2 separate regions of the Homo sapiens genome follow, and region 1 is linked to region 2. Evidence: promoter capture Hi-C in human tissues and cell types (Jung and others, 2019). All regions are on one chromosome and are shown on one strand. The core of a region is centred on a gene start or on the middle of the fragment in contact, and the rest is flanking DNA. Distances in the headings are between cores, read along the strand shown.

The links. Contacts are between HindIII fragments. The study calls those that stand out against the background at their distance.
Region 1: a contact is called between a fragment that was not itself captured here and the fragment with the promoter of FRRS1L in region 2, in 1 of the 25 tissues and cell types used here (IMR-90 fibroblasts).

What each region holds. Positions count from the first base shown.
Region 1 is chr9:109,302,971-109,308,147 of GRCh38, reverse strand. The region is part of intron 1 of EPB41L4B (erythrocyte membrane protein band 4.1 like 4B); the gene reads left to right. Among named protein-coding and RNA genes, the nearest start is that of EPB41L4B, 16 kb to the left of the region's middle. The HindIII fragment of the contact is 6,787 bases long and covers 1-5,177 here.
Region 2 is chr9:109,164,345-109,168,911 of GRCh38, reverse strand. FRRS1L (ferric chelate reductase 1 like) reads left to right here and starts at 1,663. Exons shown (of 5, transcript NM_014334.4): 1 at 1,663-2,011. The coding sequence starts at 1,774. The HindIII fragment of the contact is 7,141 bases long and covers 657-4,567 here.

The sequences.
Region 1 (5,177 bases), core at 622-3,121, 140 kb before region 2:
GGCTGGAGATGCCAGCAGACATTTTAGGGAATGCAGAATCAATGAGAAGGGAATTGGGCCGAGTGTGGGACAGCTTGAACCAGTGGGGTTCGCCTCTGAGGGAACCGTTGGAGAACACCTGGTCCAAAATCTCATTCTGGAGGCGGCGAAAGGCCTTTCCCATCTGCCTTGGAAGGCTGCTCACTCCAGTCTGCTGCTGCTCACCGTGGCAAATGAGCAGTAACAAGGGTGTAACAAGTGTAGCTTCCTGCACGTAGCCCCCCAGCGCTTATGAGCGACATCCAGCGAGCCTCTTTGCCCCTCTGAGACTCTGCCATCTCTTCTGAAAGCGACCAGGGTTCTCAACCCTGGCACATGAGAGCTGGGGCTTTCTCCAGCTCTCCTGCCCATGTGATGGATGTGGGCATCATCCAGGGAAGGCCGGTAGACTGTAAAAGCCTACCGGGGTTAGTTATTAACCTGCAGCGCACTCTTGACAGCCCATTCCATGGCATTTCACCGACTGGAGTCCTTTTATTGCTCTTGCCTGCTGGGGCCTGAGACCCAAGGCCCATATCACCTCTGCTCAGTCGGTTACAATCTGTATTGAGTGGCATCAGCACTGCTTTGATGGTAGCAAGAATGGCTGGTTAAAGTCCAGGGAGGGGCCCAAGCTGGCTTGGAACTGGCCCAGGTCATGCACACAGCCAGCAGTGACACATCCAATGGGACACTCCAGGATGAAACCTGAGAAAGGAGGTCTGGGATATGGGATATTGTAATGGGAGAGCAGGAAATTTAAGGTCGGAGGTATTTGTTTAGGATACCTCAGTATTCTAGAGCTATGGGATTTATTTTGCTTTGAAGTCCAGAGGTATTTAGCTTTATTCTAAAAGCGATGAAGTTCCTCTTAATTAAAGACGCTCCTGGAAAAAAAAAAAGGAAAAATTTAATGCTGTCTTTTAAAAGGGAAAGGATTGTATGTACTATAATAGAATTACTGTAACATGTCGTTTATTAACTCGCTTCAGGGAATGAGCTCTTCCACATAGGTAAGTTTTCCAGATAGTTACAGTTGCATCCATTTACTGACAAGAACTGTTTTATTTCAGCTATTTCATTTATTTCTTGAAGAAAAAAAAAAAAAAAAAAACAACTGCAGCACATCTAGTGTCTGTAAGGCCCTGTGGGAGGAATACAAAATGGTCAAATGTATGGGCGTTGCTCTAAAGGAGCTCATTTAGGGTGGGGTGTGGATGTTAACTGCATTACCTTGACTTTGCCTTGGTGGCCCCCAGTGGATTCTTGGGTCAGCTCTGTATAGTGTTCCAGCCTTCAAAGCATTGCTTTACTCTGCCTTTTCGAAGGCTGGCTGATTAATAAGTTAATACAACAGTGGTTTTTGATGTTTACTGCATGCTTAGAATCTTCTGGGGAGTTTTTCAAAGTCCAGCTTCTAAGCTATACCCCAGACTACTGCCACCAAGATTGATGGGCTTGGGAGGTGGGACCCCTTCACCAGAATGTTTTTTTGTTTGTTTGTTTGTTTGTTTGTTTGTTTTTTTGCTCGCTCTGTTGCCCAGGCTGGAGTGCAGTGGCACGATCTTGGCTCACTGCAACCTCCGCCTCCCAGGTTCAAGCTATCCTCCTGCCTCAGCTCCCCCGTAGCTGGGATTACAGGCGCCTACCACCATGCCTGGCTAATTTTTGTATTTTTAATAGAGACGGGGTTTTGCCATATTGGGCAGGCTGGTCTCAAACTCCTGACCTCAGGTGATCCATCCCCACCTCGGCCTCCCAAAGTGCTGGGGTTACAGGCGTGAGCCACCACGCCTGGCCCAGAATGTTTTAAAACTCCCCAGGTGATTCTGAGGTGCAGTCAGGTTTGAGAAACAATGTTTTACAGGGCTCCTTCCCTTCCTTTTGTGTGGTGTTGTAGGTTTAGATCAGGCTTTCACCTTTGATCATTTCATTTAATCCTTATAGCATTTACTCGAGAGAATTTTGGGTGTTCTAATTTTATAGAAAGCTCACCAGTAAGATTTTGGCCCCATATCCCACAGCTAGTAAATACAAAACTAGACTTAAAAGTCATTTCCAGGCTGTTCAAGTCCACTTCTCCAGTTTTTCTTCACGGCTGTCACTCTAGTGGCTCTCTGGCAGCTCCCCAGTGTCCCCTTCACTTCTCACCTGTGTATCTGTACCTGTGCCTTATTTTTTTAATTTAATTTAATTATATTTTTTTGAGACAGAGTCTCGCTCTGCCACCCAGGCTGGACTGCAGTGGCGCGATCTCGACTCACTGCAAGCTCTACCTCCCGCATTCAAGCGATTCTGCTGCCTCAGCCTCCCAAGTAGCTGGAATTATAGGCACTGGGTCACCATGCCCAGCTAATTTTTGTATTTTTAGTAAAGACGGGGTTTCACCATGTTGACCAGGCTGGTCTTGAACTCCCGACCTCAGGTGATCCGCCCACCGCAGCCTCCCAAAGTGCTAGGATTACAGGTGTGAACCACCACGCCTGGCCTTTTATTTTTATTTTGATTTTTTGAGACAGAGTCTCCCTCTTTCGCCCAGGATGGAGTGCAGTGGCGCAGTCTCCACTTACTGCAACCTCCTCCTCCTGGGTTCAAGTGATTCTCCTGCCTCAGCCTCCCGAGTAGTTGGGATTACAGGCACCCGCCACCACACCCAGCTAATTTTGTATTTTTAGTAGAGACCGGGTTTCACCATGTGAGCCAGGCTGGTCTTGAACTCCTGACCACAAGTGATCCACCCGCTTTGGCCTCCCAAAGTGCTGGGATTACAGGCCTGGGCCACCTCATCCGGCCTGTGCTGCCTTCGTATTGGCTGATTCTTATCCCTTAAGGGCCTAGCCATCTTTCAGGGCCTGTCTCAGATGATGCCACATTTATGAAGCTTATCCCATCATTCCCCCCATCCTCCCACCCCACCACCCCACCTTCCCGCGCTTCTTCCACTTCTCCCATATAGCATTCCCTCTCCTCCTAGGAGCTTGCAGGGCATTTTTTTGCCTTGGGTGGGACCTAGCACATGTTATAGTAATTATGTAGTAATTCAAGCAATAGATGGCATTATTGACCTTTTTAGTTTTTGCAAGTGATTTTTAAAATTGTGGTAAAATATACGTGACACAAAATCGACCATTAGTGACATTTAGTACGCTGACATTGTTGAGAAACCATCATTACTATCTGGCTCTGGAATATTGTCATCACCCCAAAAGGAAACCCTCTACCTGTTGAGCCGTCATTCCTCCCCTGTTCCTAACCCCGACAGCCGCTAATCTGTCTTCTGTCTCTCTGGATTTGCTGTCCCTGGGTATTTCATATAAATAGAATCATGCAATATGTGGCATTTTATGTCTGGCTTCTTTCACTCAGCATTATGTTTTCAAAGTGGATTGACCATTTACATTGTTCCAAGCCCTTTCCATGGCTTCACTCTGACCCCTCATCCCCCCATGGAGTAGGCAGTTCCTATTGGTATCCTCATTATATAGGAGATTGAGGCACACAGAGATCAGGCAACTAGGAGAGAACACACAGTGCCTAAGTACTCTTGGCCCCTGCACTGTCCTGCTGGTGTCTGCTGTTGACTTTGACCTTTAGAAGGGCAAAGATGAAACATCAAGGAAGAATTCATCTATGGTATAAGAACAACATATGATACGGCTCCAGGAGCAGAAATCATTAGAGGTGCCCCTCGGGACTGCAGAACAGAATTCCTGGGGTTGATTGTGCGCTTAAAGCTCTTGGTTTAATTGGAGTGAATCAGTATTGCTGTGAATTTCCCTCAAATGTTAGGGGTCAAGTATAGGATTGTATATCTAGTATTGGAAGCCAGCTGGCGTTCTAAGACCACTGAAATGTTGAGGAATGAGTCTTAAGGACTCAGAAAGGCAGAGGTACCCCAAGTAAAGGTTTCTTTTCAAAGTAGTGCTTACTATGTGCCAGACACAGTTCTGAGCACTTTATGTATCTTTACTTGGTTAATTCTCACAAAATCTTTACAAGGTAGCTACTGCCCTGTTTTATGGATAAGGAAGCAGAAGTGCAAAACAGTTAAATTACCTCATCAAGGTCTTGCCACTAGAATGTGGTGGACCCAGGGAGTCTGGTTCCGGCATCCATCTGCTTCATTCTTTTCCCTTTAAAAATTTTAATTTTCTTTTTTTGGTTATAACATACCTTTCCCAAGACAGTGAGAACAGAACAGCCTAGTTGCTTGAATAGGAAGAGAAAAAGGGAAAAAACATAATGGGAAAAGCACTGATTTTATTTTATTTTTTATAAAACTTATCCGGTCATATCAGTTCTGTGCCTTTAAAAAAAAATAAAAGGCTGGGTGTGGTGGTTCACAACCATAATCCTAGCATTTAGGGAGACCAAGGTGGGAGGAGTGCTTGAGCCCAGGAGTTCGAGACCAGCCTGGGCAACATTGCAAGAGACCCCTTCTCCACAAAAAGAAAAGAAAAGAAAAGAAAAAAAACCCAGCCAGGCATGGTGGCTCACACCTGTGATCCCAGTACTTTAGGAGGCTGAGGTAGGTGGATTGCTTAAGCCTGGGAGTTTGAGACCAGCCTGGGAAACTTGGTGAAACCCTATCTCTACAAAAAACAAAAACAAAAAAAACCAGCCAGGTGCGATGGCGTGCACCTGTAATCCCAGCTACTTGGGAGGCTGAGGTGGGAGGATTGCTTGAGTCTGGGAGGTGGAGGTTGCAGTGAGTCGAGATCGCGCCACTGCACCCCAGCCTGGGAGACAGAGCAAGATGCTGTCTCAAAACCCGCCCCCCAAAAGAAACCCACAACTTATAAAAATAAAAGTAATACATGTTTATTTGATAATGTTTAGGAATTATTGATTAAAGAATTTAAAAATTGTTTTTTTTTTATTTATCACTTTCACCAAGTGATCACCACTTCATTAACATTTTGGTGTATATTCTTGCCTCTTTTTTTCTAAGTATGGAGAAAAAAGTTTTTTCAACAAAAATGGGATCATACTATGTATACCCTTTTTTTACCCCTTTTTTTCTTTTCTTTTCTCTTTTTTTTTTTTTTAGAGATGGGGTCTCAGTCAGTCACCCAGGCTAGAGTACATTGGCATGGTCGTGGCTCACTGCAGCCCAGAACTCCTGGGCTTGAGTGATCCTCCCACCTCAGCCTCTTGAG
Region 2 (4,567 bases), core at 414-2,913:
TCCCTGGTGAACAGAAAGAGAAGAAAAGAAAATAAAGAAATTTTAATTTTTAAGAAAGGTTTAAGGTTTTTGTTTTTGTTTTTGTTTTTTTTTTTTTTTTTGAAGGACTACACTTTAACAGATTTTCAATCTGTTGGATCAGCTTTTTTAGAATGTTATGCATTGCCACGCTATGCTTTTTGGGAAGAAGTCTCTTGAGTTTTTAAAGTAATCATAGTTCATCTTACCTTTTTCAAATAATCTGATCTATTTTTTGTGACAACTGCTATGTTGGGGGACCTAGTGAAGCCCAAGGTTTTCATGAATTACACCTCAATTCAGCCATCAGGATTAATATGTTTAAATTCCAGTTGGACAGCCCACTGTTAGCTGATACCTAATAGAAAATACCTGACTTCTAAGTCCCCCATCATGTCTCCCCTGTTTCAACAGCACTACCCTTATCTCTCAGCCAATCAGGCCATAAAGGGTTAAGATCACTAGTTTCCTTTTGAATATTAACATTTCACAATATTGTGTACATGTGTGCATGCCACTTACAGCACTGAACCCTATTGATCCTTACCTCTATGATCTTCCCTAATCTTCATTGCATCATGTCAATGACTAATCATGAGAGATCAGGCAGTCTGACTTCTAGGTCTGCATTTGGGACCTCTATGCTTTTCTGCCTCCATAATTATTTTGTTTATGCAATAAAATAAAATAATAAAATAGGAAAAGCAGGTTAAAATGCTGGCTCTGCAACACCAGCCTGAAAGGAATTGCGTCCGCCTCTCTGATGGAAAACAGCTTAGCAATTCGAATATATCACCCCAACAACCATCATCAAAAGAGAACCCTGGGACCTGCCATAAAGCAAATGCTTGGTGTGAATCAATGGATGGCTGAGTAAATAGCCAAAAGTGAACTGCAAGCAGCAGGAATGGATTTGAGAAAAATCAACAATTCAGCATGGCCCTCAGATACGGTGTGGGCCTTCCAAGGCCTGCGCGTGCTTGCTGCAGGGAAAGAGAGTAAACCAGAAGCCTAGTTTTGAAGGGGAACAGGTTACCTACTGGCACCAGCCTCTGTTGATTACACACCGCAAGAGCCTGGAGAGGAAGCAGGTGAATCCAGTTTTCTCTGTCTCTAAACACCTCAGTTTACCTAGCTCTATTGTGGGGGTCTTGCAATTTCAAGTTCCTTCTGTGATGATCCAAGAAATAATAGGTCTAGCAAGTGCTTTATGTAAACCAAAAAGTGCCGGCACAAGGTTGAGGAGGCAGCACTGACCAGGTGTGTCCAGGGTAAACTCTCTAGAGGAGCGTTTCATAAATTGAACGTGCATTGGGATCTCCTGGGAATTTTGATGAAATGAACATCCCGCTTCATGGGTCTGGAGTGGGGCCTCAGCGATGCTAACAAGCTTCCAGGTGATGCTGATGCTGCCGGTCCGCGGACCACACTCCGGAGTAGCAAGGGGCCAGAAGGGCCAAATCTGCCTGCGTGGAGGGAAGTCGGGGAGATGGGGAGAATGGAAAGAAGGACGGTAGAAGGGAAGCTGCTAGGAAGGAGAGATCGGTGCGGGGAGGAGGGGGGTTCCAAGAAGAAGGGGGAGGCTGCGGTGCTGGAGCGAGGATGCGCAGACCGAGGCAGGGAGGCGGGGGTGCGGGAGGCTCCGCGGCTGCGCGGGCGCGTGCTGGTGGCCTCGGCGGAGGCTCAGTCCCGGCCCGCGCCCGCGGCGCCCCCGCTGCGGCCCGAGCGGCCTGGCTGCGGGATCTGTGCGCACGGATGGCGCGGCCGCCCCGGCAGCACCCGGGGGTCTGGGCGTCGCTGCTCCTGCTGCTACTGACGGGGCCCGCCGCCTGCGCAGCCAGCCCCGCGGACGACGGTGCGGGCCCGGGGGGCCGGGGACCCCGGGGACGCGCGCGGGGGGACACGGGCGCCGACGAGGCGGTGCCGCGCCACGACTCCTCCTACGGCACCTTCGCGGGGGAGTTCTACGACCTGCGCTACCTGTCGGAGGAGGGTGAGGCTGCGGGAGGGCGAGGGGTTGCGGGAGGGGAGACCGGGGGTGGGGGACCGAGGATCGGGGGAACGAGGAGAGGGGGCGAGGGAGGGGGAGGGGGTCGGAAAAGATGTCCGTGGAGGCAGCTCTTGCAGAGGCGAGGCCAGGATGGGGAGCGCAGTGCCCAGGCCTCCGCCGGCCTGGAGGAAAGGCCCAAAGAGCTGTCAATGCCTGCCGCCCGCTTTACAGATGGGGAGAGTGAGGCTGGGAGAGGGAGGGGTCATCCAAGTTCTGCAAGGCTGTGGATAGGGGTGGGTGCTGAGTCTAAGCTCCCCCAGTTCTTAGATCTGGCTTCCACCTTTGCCGCCTGGGGTTGGGTTATAGGGGAGGAGGCCGCCATCTGGCCAGGGCAGCTAGGGGGAAGCAGAAAAACCCCAACCTAAAGAGAGAGGTTGCCTTATTTCCTCCCTGTCTGTATTGACTTAAATTTGCAGTGACCAGCGCCCACCTCGTAGCATTCTGTTCCTGCTCACTGACCCGTCAGAGCTGGGTCACATCAGCCTCCCCACTCCCATCCCTCCTCTTTTATGACGCCACATATGTTATGGTCCCCTAGTGCGAGCCACCATTGTTGTGGCCTGCTGGGCCCGCAGACTGGGAGTTTGTCAGCCAAGGGCCTCCCTGTAGAGCTGCTTCAACGAGCACAAAAGCCAAGCGGATGGTGGTCAGAAGGAATGGAAACTGGCCTCTTTAAGCAACTTTGGGAAGTAGTGACTTTCCTTTTCTTCTGCTAAGAGGGATATCCAACCATCAAGCTGGGGTTTGAAGTGTTGAGTCCCAGGAGCTCATATCTGTTAGTGGATGTGTCTGTTGTTAGGATTAAGTTCAGCTGTATACAACAAGCAAACATTAATAGCTTCAACAAGATAGAAGTTTCTCTCTTACAGAAAGAAAACTAGAAATAGGTAATCCAGAACTGGTCTGGAGGCTCCTTGGTCACCAGTGTCTCTGGATCCTGCCCTTCTGTTTCTTCACAATTCTTAGCATGTAACTTCATGGTTCAAAATAACTGCTTGAGCTACAGCCATTATGTTCACATTCTAGACAGTGGGAAAAATGAAGCAGGAAGAAGGTCACTGACTACTTTATAAAGGGATTACTCGGAAGTTTCATATAACAATTTTTATACTTCTTTGGCCACAACTTAATCATATGGTTGCACATAGGTACAAAGGAGGATGTAAAATAGAGCCTATTAGCTGAGACATAATATGCCCAGTTCAAAAATCAGAATTATTGTATTAAAGAAGATGGAGAGAATGGATTTGGGGAAATGTATTAAGTAGAGGCTTAACTGCTGAATTAGAGATTTTAACATATAGTGGTTTAAATAAGCTAGTTTATTTTTCTCTCTGATAAGAGTCTGGTTGGTCTGGGGCTGGTGGGATGACTCTGTTCCGCAAGGTCATTCAGGGACCCGGGTTCTTTCCATCTTGTTGCTCTGCCATCCCCCTGAGGCTTTGTCCTCATCAGTACAGTAGAAGCCAGGTTGCATGTCCTTGTTCAAGATTGAGGGAAAGAAAAAGAGAAGTTCAGGGCAAGTAGTTACCTTTTAGGCTGGCTGCCCACATTACTGCTGTTCACATTCCTTTGGCAAAAACATAGTTACAATGACCTAGCTTCAAGGGAGACTAAGAAATGTAGTCTTCTAGCTGGAGAGCCATGTGGCGGAATCTGTCACTCTGGAAAAGAATAAATATTCCGAAGCCCGTCTGTTTCTGAAAGCATCTAATGTATCTTTACACTGTACACAGCCTAGTGCTGCCAGGTGACTTAAATGTGGTATGTGAGAACTTGTATTCTGATTGGGCTCATGCATCTAACAAATGAAGGATAAGCTCAGATTCTGTACGTCCTTTGAGTCTCTCTGCAGAGAGAATGATATGTTCATTGTATAGTCCAGAAAGTTTTATGAATGTGGACATCAGGTGGGCCACAGCCATCAAGGACAGCTTTTATAGAGTCAAGCCATGAAGTAGGAAAGACTTCAGTGACACAGAAGAGGGAAGGCATTTAGGTGAGGTGATCACATAGCAGGCAGCAGGGCTTTGTACCGATCCCTAGTGTGTCTGCTTCGCGCCCCCACCATTCTGCACATAAAACTGGTTTAACCCTCCTGAAGTCTGCCTCTAACCTGTTGGCATTGCACTCAAAAGTCTGTGATGGGGCCGGGCGTGGTGCTTCACGACTGTAATCCCAGCACTTTGGGAGGCTGAGGTGGGTGGATCAGGAGGTCAGGAGTTCGAGACTAGCCTGGCCAACATGGTGAAACCCCGTCTCTACTAAAAATACAAAATTAGCCGGGCGTGGTGGTGCACGCCTGTAATCCCAGCTACTCAGGAGGCTGAGGCAGGAGAATTGCTTGAACCCAGGAGGTGGGGAGGTTGCAGTGAGCTGAGATTGCATCATTGCACTCCATCCTGGACAACAGAGTGAGACTCGGTCTCAAAAAAAAAAAAAAAAAATCAACCTGCTCCCTGAATGAATATTCAACTGCTTTATCTGAAATGTCCTCCC